Regions from separate parts of the Homo sapiens genome. Here all the other regions are linked to region 1. The links are contacts of gene promoters, found by promoter capture Hi-C in human tissues and cell types (Jung and others, 2019). All regions are on one chromosome and are shown on one strand. The core of a region is centred on a gene start or on the middle of the fragment in contact, and the rest is flanking DNA. Distances in the headings are between cores, read along the strand shown. Region 1 holds the start of LRRTM2 (leucine rich repeat transmembrane neuronal 2). Region 2 overlaps SIL1 (SIL1 nucleotide exchange factor). Region 3 overlaps CTNNA1-AS1 (CTNNA1 antisense RNA 1).

What was found. The method cuts DNA at HindIII sites, captures the fragments that hold promoters and counts their contacts. A contact is called where the count stands out against the background at its distance.
Region 2: a contact is called between a fragment that was not itself captured here and the fragment with the promoter of LRRTM2 in region 1, in 2 of the 25 tissues and cell types used here (hippocampus and mesenchymal stem cells).
Region 3: a fragment that was not itself captured here is called in contact with the fragment with the promoter of LRRTM2 in region 1 in 1 of the 25 tissues and cell types used here (IMR-90 fibroblasts).

Annotation. Positions count from the first base shown.
Region 1 is chr5:138,873,234-138,877,160 of GRCh38, forward strand. LRRTM2 (leucine rich repeat transmembrane neuronal 2) reads right to left here and starts at 2,102. Exons shown (of 2, transcript NM_015564.3): 1 at 1,675-2,102; 2 at 1-1,323. The coding sequence starts at 1,678. The region is part of intron 7 of CTNNA1 (catenin alpha 1); the gene reads left to right. The HindIII fragment of the contact is 3,441 bases long and covers 1-2,436 here.
Region 2 is chr5:139,124,564-139,128,490 of GRCh38, forward strand. SIL1 (SIL1 nucleotide exchange factor) reads right to left here. Exons shown (of 10, transcript NM_022464.5): 2 at 3,176-3,290. The coding sequence starts at 3,280. Among named protein-coding and RNA genes, the nearest start is that of SIL1, 72 kb to the right of the region's middle. The HindIII fragment of the contact is 3,859 bases long and covers 301-3,927 here.
Region 3 is chr5:138,745,075-138,749,001 of GRCh38, forward strand. The region is part of intron 1 of CTNNA1-AS1 (CTNNA1 antisense RNA 1); the gene reads right to left. Among named protein-coding and RNA genes, the nearest start is that of CTNNA1, 6.4 kb to the right of the region's middle. The HindIII fragment of the contact is 3,336 bases long and covers 555-3,890 here.

The DNA.
Region 1 (3,927 bases), core at 852-3,351:
TGAACACTATAAAAATAATAAAAAAGAAAGAAAACAATAAAGCCATTGTTCCCGTAATTACCCGCTGAGTGAAGATGGCATTGTCTGGTTCAGGAAAGTGTTCCTCGGTAGTAACTGCTATGCCTGCAGTAGTTGGGATTTCTTTGTCTCCCACATGGTAACTTGATGAGCTTATTCTTTTTGTATATTCAGTGGTTGGATCTCTATAAGTTGTAGCCATGACAGTGACAGTGGTTGACAAATTCCAGCAGAGCTGAAATCCATGGACTGCATCTAGAATATCCTCTCCTTGGGTGTGGTCAGGACTGTGGCATAGGATGGAGTGTTCCCACCGACCTTGGAAACTGCCCAGCCAGGAGGCCAGAGCACATATTCGGGCGCTGCATTCCCACAGATTGCCAGAGAGACCAACGGTTGTGAGGGATCTCAGGGAGTTTAAGATCTTGGAATCAAGGCTGTTTAACTTGTTGTTATCCATGAGGAGTATTTTAAGATTGGGCATCGTTTCAAACACTGTCAAGTCGATGGCTTTGATTTCATTTCCAGTCAGGTCTAGCTTTTCTAAAGTGCCCCAGGTCCACTCCATCCCACATGTCAAGTTGCTGATTTTGTTCCATTGTAAGAAGAGCGTGTGCAGACTGCTTAGCCGTAGGAAATGAGCAAAATTAATCTTCGTCAGCTGGTTGTGCTCTAGGTGAAGCTCTCTCAGTTTAATTAATCCTGCAAATCCATTGCGAGCCAAACTTCGCAAACGATTTGTGCTCAAATCCAGAAACTCCAGACTACGACAGTCCCAGAACAGGCGTACTGGGATAGTCCGCAGGGAGTTGGAACGTAAATGCAAGGTCTGCAGCTTCCGAAGGCCATAGAAGAGCTCTGGGTGCAGAGATGACAGCTGATTAAAAGACAGGTCCAAATTTTGCAGGTTAATCAGTTGGGTAAAAGTTGTGTTTGGCAAGTAAAATATTTTGTTGGAACTTAAGATTAATTCCTTAAGTTTATATAGTCCTTGAAAAGCATCTTCTTTTACTGTTGAAATTTGATTGTGATCTAAGTGGAGCCAAGTAAGTTGACTGAAGCTGGCAAATTGATCTCTTTCGAGCTCTGTGATGTGATTGTGCCTCAGGGACAGGCCCAGAGAGCCCTTGTCTGTGGCGTTTGGCACTGAGTGGAAGCCCTGAGAGTCGCAGTAGAAGAGCAGCTTCTCGCAGCGGCATTTGGGTGGACACGCCATACCCAGGGCAGGCAGCATTTTTAAAACCATACTCATTGCATATATTGCTGCCAGCATAGGGGCCCCTAATGGCCACTTGAAATGTAAGCCTGCAGAATATAATTTAAGGAAAACAAGAAGATAGGATATTTTTCAGCAGAACATATGGGCTATTTAAAAAAAACAACCACCACCAACATTATAGCAAAAGATTTCACTGCATATAACTTATTTTTCATTTACTGCAGAAAAATTAACCTTATTGGTATGACTGGACCAAAACTTAAGCCATTTAAAAAGAAGATAAAACATGTCTCTGTCATCATCGATATATGCTTTTACCTAAACCTCAAAATCCAAAATATGATGGTGATTTCCCTCATAAAATGTGAATTCGGTAGCTTATTTTAAAAGCGTGATTCCTTGTTGAATGTACAAGACATATAAATGCACAGACTTACCCATTCTTCTGAGCACATTGGAGGCTGCATTCAGTCGCGGTTGTTAGACTCAACGCAGTGAGTCTGTAAAAGGCTCTAACATGTAGGAGCCTTTGACCAGTTTCCTGTTTTCTGTGTCCCAGGCTTTCCAAGTAAAATTGAATCCACCAGGACGAGTTGTTTTTTCCTTAGGATATCCCTCTGGAAAGCATTGGTTTCATTTTCTGTGATTGCTCTGATCCCTAAATCAGTTTTGAATATAAGTTATTAAATTTCTCCACCTCTAACTGCTCAGCTGGTTAATCAAAGCTTCAGTCTCCTTTCCGCAGCCGTTAGTTCTCTTGGTCTTAACTTGTTGATGGCAGATGGGTGGCTTGTTGCAGAGAAGAGCTCCTGGAGCAGCATGAGTGCATTTACTGAAAAGCTTTTCCGAGAAACGGCACAAGAATGGATTTGCTTATGTGCTGCGACCACACAGAACTGTATATAGGCTGACGTCACCGGATGACGTGTCTTTTGTTTGGGTTTTCCAGAAGCTTTACTGTTATAAAGCACCATGCTTTGTAACAGCATCGGGGTCGTTGCAGGACCCCCTGATTACAATAAAGCGAGAAAGAAGAACTCCTGACTTAAAAACATGATATTCCTTCAGTGTAGGAAGCAGCAGTGAGGTTGTAATAAAGGCTGCATTCAAGAAGACCCATCTGAACAGTGAGTTGGGTTAGCAGAGTGATGATTTTTAATGCTTGTGAGAGCCAGTGTTAGACTGCCGATTCTGCATAGAGAGATCATCTAAATGGGCAGAAGCCTGCACAATTTATGAAGTGCTGATTTAACACCAGCCTATGCAAGGTAGTGTCGCTGCACTGGTAGTTTGGAAAGCTATTCAGTTGCCTTGTTGTCATGCTTGGTTAAAATCAAAGTATGACTATGATTTGCTTTAGATGTGTTGATAAACTAGCTAAGTGGGCTTGGCTTGTTTGTCATCAAGAGCTTAACATTATAAACGAAGAATAAAGGGGGAGGGGAAGCTTGCAAAACAAAGCATGTGGTTATTTTTTTCTTTGAGAATTTCAGGGGAACTCTAAAAAGATTTCTCTTTCTCCTATTTTATAACAATGTTTTGTCGCCATACTGATTGAAAAAATAATGCTGAGTTGATCTTTAAATGTCCTCCTGGGAGGACAAGGCAGGTTGATACAGTCATTTTAATGCACATGCCCTAACAGCAAAGCAGAGATGATTTAGGACAAGTGATACCGTGTAGCTGGATTCTGACATGGCCCCTTGTATTTTACCTCAGAATCTCACCTACTCCATAACTAAAAGCCTCCGCTGGTACTGAGGTTGGTGGTTGTGACACTGAAATAATAGAGCATTTGCACCCTAGTTCCCAGCCACCAAGTGGCTGACTTAACTGAGCCTACTGCTGTTGTTAGAACCTGTCTTGTGAATACAAAAGGTCACTCATGCTTTGGACTGGGATTTTTGTTTTGACTTGATTTTGCTTGCCCTAACTCCAGTTTCTCCCTGTTGAATGGTGTCTTCACTTTTCAGACCTCAGTTGTGGATGTATAGCTCCATGTTTAGTGTTATATAAATGCAAAAGATGTTTCTAGATGTTATATTTTCAGGCCTGACAAAGGTAAGCCCTTTTCTACATCTTGCCTTATTGATTTGACCCAACATACCTATTTCTCCCATATCATTGGCACTTACCCTTTGTGGGTCTTGTCTCAGACCTAAGGACAGACATCTTTAAAACTACTGATGGTGTCTGTGAAACAAGAACATCGTTGGCCTTTTTGGTTCTGAGGGATTCATCCCACTGGGCAGATCTAAGAAGTAATTGTCTTGGGTAAAATTTTTCTGTTGTAGTGTTGTGCTGGAGTGAGAGCTGTGAGACTCCAAGGTCCCTTCCTTAGGGCTCTGTGTAAAGGTGCTATGAAAACTGCAGCAGTGCAGGTGTGTGGTTTGAGTCCTCCTAGAAGTGATCCCAAGGTAGAATTAGAAGTACAAGAGGCAAAAATGCCTACGAAGTACAAAGGGAGACAGAAGGCAGCAGGAATGCTCTGAGAGTCTTCGTACCACAGGGCAGGTCTGACACCTGTGAAGGGACAGAGGAAGCAAAGAAGATGAGATTGGCATTGTGGTTCTTAGACACATTTTGTAGGCTGAATGGAAATTCCCAAGCCAAAGTTGCCAGTGAACAGACTCTTGAGTCCTTAGTAATGAGCCTGCACTAGTACGTCCTCTTTGTTCCTTCTTGCTGGT
Region 2 (3,927 bases), core at 980-3,479, 250 kb after region 1:
TGCCCAAAACACACCTAGCTATCCTCAAAGGCCAAGGGCTCAGAAGCCTTGAGAGAGGTTCAATGATATGAACAAACCACAGGCTGGACAGTGAGTTCAAAAGCAGAGTTCCAGAAAAGGTTTTGAGAAAAAGCAGCATCAAGAGGATGAGGTTGTAATGATAACAGCAGCTACCATTTATTAAGCCCTGATCATATGTCAGGCACTGGGGCAAGGTGCCTTCCATTCCTCAATTCATCCAAGTGTCATCTGTGAAGCACATCATATTAGTCCCATAGGAGGACAGATATGGGGCTTTTCAAAATCACACTGCTCAGAAAAGCAGAGCAGAGATTGAAGTCCAGACCTGCCTGGCTCCAAAGCCCATACACAAGTTTTGACTCACTGCTATGATTCTTTCTTGGTCAGATGTCCTAATAAGTTGTGCCCTGAGAGCTGAGGGAATGACGCGGGATACTGAGATCACCTTAGCATATCTACCAGCACATGCCCTTCCTCGGCAAAGACTTCCATGGGCCAGGTAAGAAACCATAGTCCCAGTAAAAGAACAAGCACAACTAGCCTCACTCTGCCTAGGCAGTGTCCTGAACAGGAGAGAGAGAGAGGCAGGCCAGCCCTTGGTCAGCTGTGAAGTAAACCCCGTGCTCTGGTGCCTTCCCAGCTGGCTTCTCAGGGCTGCCTTCCACGCTGGATCATCAGTGCTCTCTTCTCCCTATCACCATCATTCCAAATACCAATTTCCTCTCAAGTGACTGGCAAGAAATCCTAGCTAAGGTGTTAGCTGACAACAGCTTACCATGTCACACTTCCTTGCGCTTGTATCCGAATAAGAGATTCTTAAAAACCAAAGCCTTCAAGATCCAAGAGAATAAATGAATCTCTAATGGTGGGTTGACAGACACTGTAACAGAGACAGACTGCCAGGGCAACGTTTTGGGACAGAAGCCTGCTTGACACAGCCCAAATTAAACCATAGAAGCAGCATCCCCATACTAAAAAACAACAGCTGACATTCATTAACCATTTATTGGCCATATTGTGCCAGTTTCAATGCCAGGTGCTTTATATATAATCATATTTAATCTACACTAAAACCTTAAGAGGGAGGTACCAACCCTGTTTTACAGATTAGGAAACAAAGCTCAGAAAGGGTCAAATTGCCAAAGTGGGAGGCAAAAGGGATCTTACGAAGGGCCTGTGCGCCTTCCACAAGGCTCCACTACTGTACCCGCCTCATTGTTTACCACCTTTTTCAAGGCCAGTAACACACAACCACAGCCCTTCAGCATCTACACGCCTCCTGAGATGTGGCATCCCGGGGAAGTACCACAGCAGGAGCCAGGAAGGAAAGCTGGCTCCAGATCATACTGTGATACACACAGCCGGCCTTTCCTGGGTGGGCATTAACCTGCCCCAATGCCTTTGGGGAGGACAATTCTAGGTCATCAGGAGCACTTACCTGGACTCCAGGCTCTGAAGAAAGGATCATAACCACCTCCACCCCATTTTCACTGTTGTGAAGGTGGCTGGCTGCATAATTTAGATTTTAAATGACATCAGGGCAGCAATTTTTATGGTATGAGAGAAAAGATGCTTCAACTCCTACTTGTGCTTAGCACATGATGAAAGATTATGACAAATGGATACAGCTTAGGAACAGACATAAGGATAAAAGCAGCTTCTGTTGATGAAAGTCAGTATTAACATTTTTCTGAGACTAGACTCAATAGAGCTAATATAAATGGGCCAGAATAATTATGCTCTGAAAGCTCATCTATTTGGTTGGACTATTATCCAAAAGGGACTTCCTAACTCGGTCCTTAAGTAAATTCATCAGCATGCCTTTGTTAATTGTGCATCTGCTAAAGCTCACGATGGGGAGCATGGCATCCTCATGAGGTACAAGTTGGGGAGGGGACACAGCCCTGGGCCCTGAAGGTTCTTTTCTGGGCCATTCCACCGCCAACCCATGCCAGAGACAGCCCCAACCTCACGCTGTAGCCAGTCCCATTCTCAGGGGCCCCTGGGATCCCATTCTTACTGTCCTTGAAGAAGAGGCAAATAAACAGCACCAACAGGATCTCAGAGGGCATTAAAAACTCAAAAGGACTCGTGACTCCTAACTGTATGTTTTCCCCTGCTCCACGAAGTGGGGGGAAAGGCAGAGAGGAAACAAATGATTTCAGAGAGAAGGTGGAAGCTTGCCATGAGCCAGAGGTGAACCACAGCTAAGCTGGATTGTTATTAAATTCATCACAATTGTCATTTGCACTTCAAGGACCTCCCGCTCCAGAGCTTCCAGCGCTTTATCCAACATTTAGTGGGAGCCCTGGGGGTTGGGGAAGGTGGCCAGGGGAGGGTGAAACTGTCAAATAACTGACAGTGGGAGCTTATCAAGGGAGAGGAGAGGGAGGGCATTAGGAGCTGGTCAAGGGCAGGCTGTTGCTGGGACAAGCCAAGTAAACAGGGCCAGGAACCGTAGTGTGCTGCAGCCAGGCCAAGCTCAGGGCCTTTCTGGGCATTCTCCTCCTGCCAGTGGCAATGGCAGAAGCCCTGAGCAGTAAGCTCTAGGTTAATGAAGTGTGGCCCAGAAAGAACAGGGAGCTACAGACAAAAGGAAGGAGGATACAGAGATGGAGATGAACTGAGAAAGTACAAGGGAGAGAGGAGTAGAGGAAGAAAAAGAGTCTTACTTGGAACTGATGCCCACCACACAGGCACTCAGCTTTTGGGAAGAATCCTGACATTCACAGCTCTCACAAACTGGCTGTGTGATTTTGGCCAAGTTACTTAATGTCTCTGAGTCTTAGTCTTCTCCTCAAAAGGAGAATAAAAACTGTAGCTGCCTACTTCATAGTGTTGTTGGGAGGATTAAATGAGAATACATATAAAGCACTCACTACAAGGTTTGGTAAATGGAAGATTATAATTATGAATTTATCATCATCATCATATTTTCCCCAAAGGGAAACTGTGTCATAAGCTTTAAACAGAGGCCAGAAGACACAGGGATGGGGAGGAAGAAGTCTACCTACTCCATGATCCACTGCCAGCCACACTCACATAAGAAAGAAACATAGAAGCCCACACCCTACTCCCACAACAGCCCTGGTGACAGGGAGGCCTTCTCAAGACCTCATCAAGGGTCCCTCCCATTTACAATAAAGATATTTACCAGGTTCTGATGACTGAGGCAGAAGGTGAAGCAGGCGGCCATCAGCAGCCCAAGCAGCATGCCCAGAGGAGCCATCCTAGATGAAGGCAGGCTCTGGGGAGCCATAGTCAGGGACCTGCAGGTGCAAGCATAGACAACAGAAGGTCAATGAAAAGCTAATGCTTGGTTCCCCCGCACTGTGATTCCCATGTCGTCACTTGCTCACATGTCAGACATTTCCTGCATAGAGGTATAACGAGTCTTCTACCACTTCTAGATAATTCTGAAGCCTCCATCTACCATGGTGGGTCCAGCCATCCAACAAGAGATATGCCCTGGGTAGAACCATACAGTCGATCAGGACTCCTGCATAAGCTATTACAGCCCTAGTCCCTTCCTTCTTCATTAGAACTTGTTATCAGGTTGTGGCGGGTGGTCTTGACTATAAGGAGAGAGGGAAACTAACCAACTGATCTGCATGTGAACAAACATGGGCACAAATCCACATAAGCCTTTATAACCACCCACTTCTAAAACACACCCATTATCCTACCTGAAGACAGATGGCATCAATATCCTCTAAGACAGCAAAGTTCGATATTCCCAAGTCACAAAACCTCTCACATCAGCTTTCAAACAGTCAAACAAATAAAAGTACAAGCCCCAGTAGCTATTAAAAGGACAGGCAAAGGTGGGAGGATCACTTGAGGCCAGAAGTTCACGACCAGCCTGAACAACACAGTGAGACCCTGTCTCCACAAAAAATTAAAAAA
Region 3 (3,927 bases), core at 973-3,472, 130 kb before region 1:
CCTTCCCTCCCCATCTACCTTGTCAACATCGTGCCAAGCACTATTCTAGGCACCAGGGATACAGCACTGAACAAAATAGACAAAAACTCTAGCCCTTGTGTGGCTGAAATTCTAACAGGAATAAGACAGAAGAAAAGCAATAAATTATATACCATATATGACTATTTTAAATTTTAAATATGTATTAAATATATATTTTTAAAATATGATTTTATATATCAGGAGGGTGATATAAGCTAAGGAAAACACTGAACAAGGAAGAGGGGGGTGAGATGTTGAGAAACGGGTTGCAATTCTGAATAAGGTGGCCAAGCGGAAGCCTCACTGAGAAGGTGCCTGGCAGAGGTGAGGGAGCAAGTCAGGCAGCTATTTGGAGGAGAGCATTCCAGGCAGGAAGCAAACGCCCTAAGGCAAGAGCCTACTTGATAGCAAAGAGGACACTGTGTCAGAGAAGAGTATCGGGGCAAGTGAGGCCCTTATAAGGCCCTCACTTCTCTGTACTTTGAGTGAGATGGGAGCCACTGGAGGGTCTGGGTGGAGCAGGAGTGACATGCTTGGACTTTTTTTTTTTTTTTAGACGGAGTCTCGCTCTGTCGCCCAGGCTGGAGTGCAGTGGTGCGATCTGGGCTCACTGCAAGATCTGCCTCCCTGGTTCACGCCATTTTCCTGCCTCAGCCTCCCAAGTAGCTGGGACTACAGGTGCCCGCCACCACGCCTGGCTAATTTTTTGTATTTTAGTAGAGACGGGGTTTCACCGTGTTAGCCAGGATGGTCTCCATCTCCTGACCTCGTGATCCGCCCGCCTCAGCCTTCCAAAGTGCTAGGATTACAGGCATGAGCCACTGTGCCTGGCCACTTGGACTTACTTTCTAACAAGATCACTCAGGCTGCTGAACTTAAACTAGACTGAGGGAGGCAAGTGCAGAAGTAGGGAGACCAGTTGGGCTCCCCTGGCAAAATTGAGGCTAAGAGATGATGGTGGCTTGATTCAGGATGGTAACAATGGTGATAGTAAAAAGTTAGTGGCTTCTGGGCCTGGTGCGTTGGCTCATGCCTGTAATCCCCGCACTTTGGGAGGCCGAGGTGGGTGGATTGCTTGAGGTTAGGAGTTCGAGACCAGCCTGGCCAACACAGCGAAACCCCGTCTCTACTGAAAAAAATACAAAAATTGCTGGGTGTGGTGGCGGGCACCTGTAATCCCAGCTAATCGGGAGGTTGAGGCAGGAGAACTGCTTGAACCTGGGAGGTGGAGGTTGCAGTGAGCCGAGATTGCGCCACTGCACTCCAGCCTGGGTGACAGAGTGAGACTCCGTCTCAAAAAAAAAAAAAAAAAAGTTAGTGGGTTCTGACTCTATTTCGAAGGCAGAAGTACAGGGTCTAAGGAATCAGATTTGAAATGCATGCAAGAAATAAAATAGCCAAGGATAACGCCAAGGTTTTTGGCCTCAGCCATGGCCAAAATGAGAGGATGGAGTTGCCATCTAAGGAAATTAAGAAAACTATGGGATAAGTAGGTTTGGACAGTGGTATTAGGAAATCAGTTTTGGACATACAGACATATAAAGTTTGAGATGGGCTGGGCATGGTGGCTCATGCCATTTAATTTCTGTAATCCTTTGGGAGGCCAAGGCAGGAGGATCACTTGAGCTCGGAGTTTGAGACCTGCCTGGGGAAGATAGCAAGACCTCATCTCTACTAAAAAAAAAAAAAAAAAAAAAAAAAGCTGTGCGTGGCAGCACATACCTGTAGTCCCAGCTACTTGGGAGGCTGAGGATCATTTGAGTCTGGGAGATCAAGGCTTCATTGAGCTATGATCAAACCACTGTATTCCAACCTAGGTGATGGAGTGAGACCCTGGCTCAAAAATAAGATAAAGTTTGAGATGCCTAGATGCCTATTGGCTATCTAAGTGGAAACATCAAGTAGGGAGCTGGATAAGTGAGCTGCAAATTCAGGGGAAAGGTTCAGGTTAGGGATATATACCTGGAGTTGTCAGCATATTTCAAGTCAAAAGACTGGCATCAATGGGTTAATGACAGCTATTAGTAGAAAAAGAAGTCCAAGGACAGAGCCCTGGGACACTTTAACAGAAATTTATAACTTCAGGCTGGAGTGCACTGCAAACTCCGCCTCTCGGGTTCAAGTGATTCTCCTACCTCAGCCTCTGGAGTAGCTGGGATTATAGGCATGTGCCACCACACCCAGCTAATTTTTTTTTTTTTTTTTTTTTGAGACAGAGTTTTGCTCTTGTCGCCCAGGCTGGGGTGCAATGGTGTGATCTTGGCTCACTGAAACCTCTGCCTACCAGGTTCAAGCGATTTTCCTGCCTCAGCCTCCCAAGTAGCTGGGACTACAGGCATGTACCACTATGCCCAGCTAACTTTGTATTTTTAAGGAGATGGGGTTTCACCATGTCTGGTCTCGAACTCCTGACCTCAGGTAATCTGCACACCTCTGCCTCCCAAAGTGCTGGGATTACAGGCATGAGCCACCACGCCTGGCCATAATTTTTGTATTTTTAGTAGAGATGGGGTTTCACCATGTTGTTCAGGCTGGTCTCGAACTCCCAACCTTGGGTGATCCACCCGCCTCGGCCTCCCAAAGTGCTGGGATTACAGGTGTGAGCCACCGCACCCAGCCAAAGTTTTTAACTTTTTTTGATCTCAAGACTCCTTTACACTATAAAAAATTTGAAGATCTCAAAGAACTCTTGCTTATGAAAGTTTTATCTATCAATATTTACTATAGGCCTGGCAGGGTGGCTCACACCTGTAATCTCAACACTTTGGGAGGCTGAGGCAGCAGGATCACTGAGGCTTGGAGTTCAAAACCAGCTTGGTCAACAGAGTGAGACCCCTGTTTCTACAAAAGAAAAATTTAAAAATTAACCACACGTGGTGGTGTGCATCTGTAGTCCCAGCTACTGGGGAGGCTGAGGTGGAAGGATTGCTTGCACCTGGGAGATCAAGGCTACACTGAGCTATGATAGCACCACTGCACTCCAGCCTGGGCAACAGAGCAAGACCCTGTATTAGAAATTAAAATAAACAATTTCAAAATATTTATTAATTCATTAAAAAATAACAATAGCAAGTCCATTACATCTTATCAATAAATAACATTTTTGAAAAGAAAAATAACCATGTTTTCTAAAACAAAAGAAAAATTCAGGGAGAACTGTTGTTGTTTTGCATTTTTACAAATCTCTATCTGACTTAATAAAAGATAGCTGGATTCTCATATGTGCTTTCACATTGCATGTGATGCCACATCATACATCATTTAGCCTGTGGAATACTCTACTGTACACCCGGGAGAAAATGAGCATAAAAAAGCAAATGATATTTTAGAATTATTGTGAAAATAGTTTTTACCACATTACTCCCTGAAAAGTTATCAGTGATGTCCAGACTATACTTTGAGAATCCCTGCTCTAACATTTAGAGGTTAGGAGGAATTAGAAGTCATCATCAATGGAGACTAAGAAGCTTAGCCAGGAAGGCTGGATGGAAATCAGGAAAGCCTGGTGCCCTGGAGGCCCAATGAAGAAAGTGTTTCAAGGAGGAGAGTGACCAAATGCTGCTGATTGTACAAGTCAACTGAGGAAGGACGGACCATTGGATTTTGCAACGTGGAGGCCATCAGGGACCTTCATAAAAGCAGTTTTGGTGGAAAGGCGAATGCTAAAGCCAGACTGGAGATGAGTCACCACATAAAGGTCACTTCTCAGGTCTCCGAATCCCAGGGTAGTTAATTTACCCACAAACCTACATGTATCTCTCCCCTATCTTCACACTTGCCTTTCTTTTTTCCTGGTTTACGTGTGTGCCTGTGTGTGTGTGTGTGTGTGTGTGTGTGTGTGTATTGACACAGGGTCTCAATCTGTTGCTCAGGCTGGAGTGCAGTGGTGCAATCTCGCCTCACATC